2 separate regions of the Homo sapiens genome follow, and region 1 is linked to region 2. The links are contacts of gene promoters, found by promoter capture Hi-C in blood cells and fetal thymus (Javierre and others, 2016). All regions are on one chromosome and are shown on one strand. Each heading gives the region's core, a stretch centred on a gene start or on the middle of the fragment in contact. The rest is flanking DNA. Distances are from core to core; before and after follow the strand shown. Region 1 holds the start of GAS1RR (GAS1 adjacent regulatory RNA). Region 2 holds the start of AGTPBP1 (ATP/GTP binding carboxypeptidase 1).

Region 1 (3,605 bases), core at 406-2,905, 1.2 Mb before region 2:
GTTGCATAACAAACCATCTCAAAACTGAGTGGCTTAAAAGAATATTTTTTTGTTATTTCTCAGGATTCTTTGGGTTGACTGAGCTAAGCTCTGCTCTTCTTGCTTGAGGCAAGACCAGAACTAGAGAAAGGTGAGTGTAGTGTCTAAAGTACAAAATTTAAGGAGGCACTCACTCTTGGAGTCTTGGAGCCCAATTATGAAGGTCAATGCCTCCTTACATTTTGCACCAAAATGCCTCACTTGCTTCACGCTGATCTTGACCCTGGCTTGGGGTCTCTCTCATGTGTCTTCAGTAGGATGGCAGCTAGAGCTGGAGTCACCTGAAGGTTCAGCTGGGCTGGACATCCAAGTTAGTGTCTCCACTCACAAGTCTGGTGCCTTCTTCACTCACATGGCTGAAACAGCAGGGAGCTGGCCAGGCATCTCTTTCCTTCTCCATGTATCCTCTACACATAGTAAGCATGGGCTTCCTCACAGCATGCGAGTCTGAAGGTGGTCCAGATGTCTTACGTGGTGACTGGCTTCTGCAGAGCAAGTATTCCAAGAGGCCTGATAAGGTTTGGCTCTGTGTTCCCACCCAAATCTCATCTTGTAGCTCCCATAATTCCCACATATTGTGGGAGGGACCCAGTGGGAGATGACTGAATCATGGGGGTGTATCTTTCCCATGCTGTTTTCATGACAGTGAATGGGTCTCATGAGATATGATGGTTTTAAAAACAGGAGTTTCTCTGCACAAGCCCTCTCGTTGCCTGCTGCCATCCATGTAAGATGTGATTTGCTCCTCCTTGCCTTCCACCATAATTGTGAGGCCTCCCCAGCCATGTGGAACCCTAAGTCCAGTAAACCTCTTTCTTTTGTAAATTGCCCAATCTTGGGTATATCTTTATCAGCAGTGTGAAAACGGACTAATACAAGGCCCGAGTAGAAGCTGCAAGGCTTCTTGTGATCTAGCCTTGGAGGCCCCAGAATGTCAGTCACTTTCACTATGTCCTATTGGTCAAAGTCAGTAAGGCCTACCCAAGACTCAAGGGGAAGGGGATTATACTCTGCCTTTTGATCTGAGTAGTAAGGATGTAAAGGTAGGGAGAAAAGTGATGGAGACCAATTTTGGAGGGTATCTACCACAGTAAGCCCAGTAAACAAATAGGTTTTGGGGATGGAAATTTAGAAGTGCTCTTGGGGAAGCTTAAGTTTGAGATGTCCTTGGAACCAAGTGAATATATACATATGGAGATCAGAGAAAGACTGAGATTGAAAACATCAAATTAGGAGATGCAATTTAAAATCAAGGCACTAGATGTGGTTACCTAAGGAGTTGAGAGACAGAAGGAGCCACCAGGCAGTAAAATGAGAGAACAGGGGAGTATGGAGTTTCGGAAGCCAAAATTTTAGAAAGCGCTTTGAAAAGGAGGTGATCAGTCATGGCCAATGCTGCTGAAACGTCATATAAGCTGAGGACTGAGAAGTGACAATCAGGTAGAGCAAGGTTTTGGTCACTAGCGACTCTACATAATCGAATGGAACTCGATTATGTAGAGTGAATCGAGTGGGGAAAGTGAGTAAAAGCAAGATTTTCAAGTTTTCATGAAAATGGGATAGTGACTGAATAGGGACGTGGAGTCTAGAAGGTTTTACTATTATGTTTTTTTAAGATAGAAGACAGTATAGCCTATTGTGGTGAATGGAAATGACACAGTAAAAAGTGGGCTGAGAACCCCTCAGGCTTGCAATGCTAATGCTATGTGACTGGGATGCAGAAGTCCCCAAAGCATGCAGAGCTCTTGGGCCTCCCTTAAACCCCACTGAGAGCTGTATCAAGGCCAAGGTGGGGCAAGTGTTACCAAAAACACAGCAACAACACAGAAAAGAAACATGTTAACTTTGAGAGCAGTGATTCTCAAAGTTTGAGAGCAGCATTCCCTGAGAACTTGTTAGAAATGCATATTCTTGGGACCCACCAGTCCAACTAAATCAGAAACTCCAAAAACTAGGGATCTGAGTTTTAGGATACGTGCTAAGGTTTGGGTCCCACTATTCTAAAGGAACTCAACAAAAATTCAAGTAAAGATGAAACCGAGTGCTGACTTTGTTCCTTATGGGCCTAAAATAACAAAGCTTTAAAGACAAGAGGGGATTTTTCAATTGTCTAATTGGCTTCGAACCTTACCTGTGGAGGGATCCCAGACACAGAGAAGGTGTCTGAGTTGTCCAAGTCCTCCAGGCCGGACTGAGAGGACAACTCCAAATAATAGAGAAAAAAAAAGAGACAGAGAGCCAGGGATATGGTTGTTTTGATGTGCCATGAAGTTGCAGCCTTTCTGGATTTTTTTAGTATCGATTTATATTGCTGTTTGTCTACCAATACTCAAATCAGAGCAAGACGGTCCGCCTTACCTCAGTCTGGCTCTTTTAAGGTTTGATTTTGGTTTTGGGGACTGCAGAGGTGCAGCTTCCCACGGCAGACCAAGCGCCTCTGAGGAACGCAGCAGCTTCAGCAGGTACAGGAAGATTTCCCGCAGCCGGAGGAATCTCCTAGTGCTGGGCCTCCGGCTGTGACTTTTGCCATTTCAAATTCACTTGGCCTCTAGGGAGAGGCAGACAGCCCGACGCTGAGCGCGTCGGAGCCCCGGCTCCCTCTGCTTCTGGAGAGGAGATTTAGCCTTAATTTTTGTGACAGATGGAGTTGATAGTCTCTCCACGGAAAGGGGAGGAAAAAAGCGCCAGTTTTTGACAGGCCGCAGACGCCCGCTGCCTCTGGTGGCGGAAGGCTGCGTTGCGCCCCAGTTAAGGTAGCTCGGAAACTCCCTCGCCGAGAAGGCAGAGGTTTCCTCTGCAGAGCAGCCTCCCTTAAATATACTGAGGGGCTGAAACTTACACTTTAATATAAACCTTTGGTGCGTGCCCATTTATTCCGTCTTCTGTCCTGTGACTGCGGCCAGGTGGTAATTGCTCGACATTCCTGAATATTTTTAATGCTAGTTAAATTTTTTCATTATTGCACGTGTTGCAAGCTTATCTTCCTAAGAAATTATTTCGGTTGATTGGATTTCGGTCTTGCAATTTGAAAACGATGCCTGGCGCACGGGCGGTACCTGCCAGATGGCCTAGCTGGGGCTGGGGGGTGGCGGGCGGGTTGTAAGCATCTCATCAACATCTCCCTAATAAAGTGTGTGCTTCTTTCTTGTATGCTTCTTTAAAACAGTTTCAGTCTCACATTTTATCTCTGGATTCTCCCCTTCCCCTCTGTGGTGATCAAGACCCAAAGACAGGGAGCCTGGAAGATAAACTGAGTTCTGAATCCAGTCGAAAGCACAGATGGGGGCCAGCGAGAATTAATAAAACTACAAAAAAAAAAAAAAAGAAAAAAAAAACAAACAAAAAAGGCCCGTGGCTGAGCCGGATGCAAACAGCTGCCCCTAAGCCCTGCCCGCTGGTTCTGTGCGCGAGCTGGGGCTGCATATCCGAGCCTCCTTAAGAGTAGGAGGAGCTCCGGGCCTCCGTCAGGCTCCCTAAGCCGTTCCTTTCAAGCCCTGAATGCCTGAATGTGAGCTGCCCACCACCCTCCCGCCCTCCCCCACTCCGCAACCCCACTCCAGCGGCTC
Region 2 (3,166 bases), core at 322-2,821:
GGGATCTGATGAAGAGTGATGTCACATTCCCAGGGGGTGGGGGAGTAGCTCTAAGTTCTTAATTACCGCAAAACATAAATCACTCACTCTTGTGGCAAACTATGTGATTGGAATCATTTCAAAGCTATGTAATGCTGCTATTTATCTTGTGTGGGTTAATCTCCTGGGTCTGTGTTGTGGTCATCAAACTATGCTAACAGTGCTTGTGAAAGTGGGATTCAAATTCCACAAACACACACATCCACATAATATCTTCCTATATTGCAGGTTGACTCATTTAGAAACATGTTCTTTAAGAAAAGTTTCAGGTATATTACATACATATTTAGCATTATTGTAAAATTATTACATTATTATTGGGTATTTTCAGATAATACGTTTCTGATTGGGTGGTTTGGGGTGGTGGTTGTTTCAAAATTATTTTAAATACCGTAACCTATCTTTTAGTGCTCACGATGAGGGAAACTACGATGTTTATAAAATGGCAGTTTCTTGTTCATCTGAATAAAGACATCTACCAAGGGCAAACTGTAAGAAGCACTGTGGTGTACCTTGGGTTACTTTTTGAATTGCTTTCACACCTGCTTAATTTTATTTGAACAAGATCATAAAACAAAACAAAAATCTCACAGTTCTCAATGCATTCCCTTATCTAGTTGTGATATTACATTCCTTACCATAAACAGTAGCAAACATGTTCTTGTGCAACGTGAAAAAGTAAATGATGTCAGTATTTATTTGCAATACATTGCAGTACACTGAAGTACAGTCAAAACAGAAGGGGGTGTATTAGTAATTTCTCTGACACATTACTTTGGCTCAGATAAAACATTCCGCCTTTGCCTTCAGTAGCCAACTTAGCATTACCGTTTTGATTATATGCAGGCACTTTTTCAAAAAACAGTAAATCAGCATGCTATTTTGTTCGCTGCAGCACTAGGCATCTAATTTACTGAGATTTGGCCACAAGGTGCAATCCTGTTGTTTTCTGGGAGCCCGATTGTAGTAACAGCATGTCCCTTCCAGCCTCTTATTATGGACCCTCCTTGAGGTCAGGAAAGGTCTAAGCTTTACCGCAGTCCCCAGCGTTTGATGCGACCCCGGGATCACGTGGGGAGCTTTAAGAACCCTTCCTAAGAAAGTGACTGATTGATGGCGGGGGAGGGGGTGGGCGCGGGCTTAGTTCCGGGAAAAGGCTGGGGCCCTCGTTGGGAGTGTACAGAAAGATGACTTGAAGAACGTGGGGAGTCGCTCGCAGTTCGGTACGGAGGGGCGGTGGCCGGGGCTGCTGGGTACAAGGGACCGGCAGCGCGCGGAACACCCGCCCCTAATTCCCGCTCCCGTGCGCGCTCCGCCCCCACGCGCGCGCTCCCTCCCGTCAGGCGCGCAGAGAGGCGGGGCGCAGCGCGCACGGAGGTAACAAGGGACGCGGCGGGAAGAGGGCGTGCGCTCCGCCCCGCCCCTTTCGCGGCCTCGCACGCCCCGCCCCCACTCCCTGCGCGTGCTGGGAGCCGGCTGGCAAGGCGTGCGGTGGGCGGGGCGCCGCGCTGACGTTGCCCGGGATGCGGACAGGTTCCGCCGCCTCCAGCGCCGCCGCCGCAGCTGCCGCCGCCGCCGCCTCCGCCTCGCCTGCCACCGGGGTTTGTATGAAAACACCGGGCGGCGGGCGGCGAGGGATCCGCCGTGATCCAGGTGCTGAGCCGGGTGCTGCGGCTCTGCGCGGTCCCCGCCAGCGCCCCATCCTGAGCCGGTGAGCGCCCTGCTGCAGTCCTCATGTCCCGGCCGGCCGTCCCTCTGCTCTCCCCGGGCCGCGGGAGATGCGAGCGACGGCGCCCGGGGGTAGGAGGGGCGACCCCGGATCCCTGCGCCCCTTACCTGACGGGTTGTGTAACGCATGTTACACATGTGACGCGTGAGGGGAACGCACTCGGTCTTGAGGGAAAGCCCTGACGGGGTGGGGCTTTGACTGGGTCTGGAAAACGCCTTCCCCAGTCCCCGGACCCTCGGTGGATCCCCGTCCCAGACCTTGCGGAGGGTATCGGGCGCGGTCTCTGGGCGGAGGCCGCCCTTTCTGCTCAGCCCTTTCTCTCGGGCCCGAGCTCGCGGCGCCGCGGGGAGTCCAGCCGAGGGGCTGCAGGGCCGGGGGCGGGCGCGCCCAGCCCCGCTCTCCCCCGCCCCAGTGGTAGCGGGCCGCTGAATCGCGGGCCCCTGTGCTTCGAGAATTCTAGCGTTCCCGACTGAGCGCCAGCAAGGTGGGATTTGCTGTGACATCGGCGATGGGCACGTTTGCTTCCTCTCGCTGGGTGGTTTGAGCTGAAGTGTGTCTTCTGTTTACAACTTGTCGCCTTGAGCGTTTGGTTTGAACCTGAATCAGATCACCCTGGATGACAGTGCAGAGTTTCCTTAGTGTCTTCCTTCCTGAATTGCGGGTTCTCAATTGCAAGTGTTCAAGGACTGTTGTAACCCAAAGGCTTGCTCGACTCTACCGTTGTTTTACCCCTTGTGCGGTATAAACCTCTTACGAGCACCAGGGCAATTGGAGTTGGTTGGGTTCCTTTCTTGGGCGTTTACTCATTGTAGAATGGAGTTTTCATGCATCATAGTGTAATCGATGTGAATGTTGATAATTTAAAGCCCATTTCCCGTTTTAACATAGCTTACTCAAGTGCCTGAAGATAGCGGAAATTTTCTTTGGCAGTATTAATTCTATGTGGGTTTTTTCCTTCAGGTGTTTAACATTGTAGTTGTGTTTAATTACAATGCATGACAATTTGTAGTTAGAAAGGACCTTAACAGTCTTCTTAATCGGTCATTTTCACTTACCTTTTATGTCCGTTTTTTAAGCTTTATGTAAATCAAATTATCCTTTGTGAACTTCTGAATTATTCTTATAAACTGGTTGTCTGAGAAAACCGGAAAGTTATTTTTGTAATTGTATTGTGGAATGTTTTTAGTTCAGTAGGCCAAAAAAGAAATGATTTATTTAAGGAACTTTAAATGGTGCTTATTTTAAAACATGTGCCAAATGTCAAAACCAAACAAAACTCTGAAAGATCTGTATTTCCTATGTAGAATTACTGCGAAATAATAAGTCGTGCCTTACCCACTGTTTCTCATCATGCAGGCAGAGTTCTAATATGACTTGCTCTTTTTCCCATTCCACTTC

What was found. Contacts are between HindIII fragments. The CHiCAGO score rates a contact against its expected background, and 5 or more counts as called.
Region 1: a fragment that was not itself captured here is called in contact with the fragment with the promoter of AGTPBP1 in region 2 in 4 of 17 cell types (fetal thymus, total CD8 T cells, naive CD8 T cells and 1 more); the score reaches 12.9 in fetal thymus.

What each region holds. Positions count from the first base shown.
Region 1 is chr9:86,947,786-86,951,390 of GRCh38, reverse strand. It overlaps GAS1RR (GAS1 adjacent regulatory RNA), which reads right to left and starts at 2,693. Exons shown (of 7, transcript NR_049794.1): 1 at 2,398-2,693; 2 at 392-524. The HindIII fragment of the contact is 930 bases long and covers 1,191-2,120 here.
Region 2 is chr9:85,740,359-85,743,524 of GRCh38, reverse strand. It overlaps AGTPBP1 (ATP/GTP binding carboxypeptidase 1), which reads left to right and starts at 1,571. Exons shown (of 26, transcript NM_001330701.2): 1 at 1,571-1,750. RefSeq lists silencers at 1,248-1,847, 1,918-2,237 and an enhancer at 2,408-2,557. The HindIII fragment of the contact is 1,776 bases long and covers 1,071-2,846 here.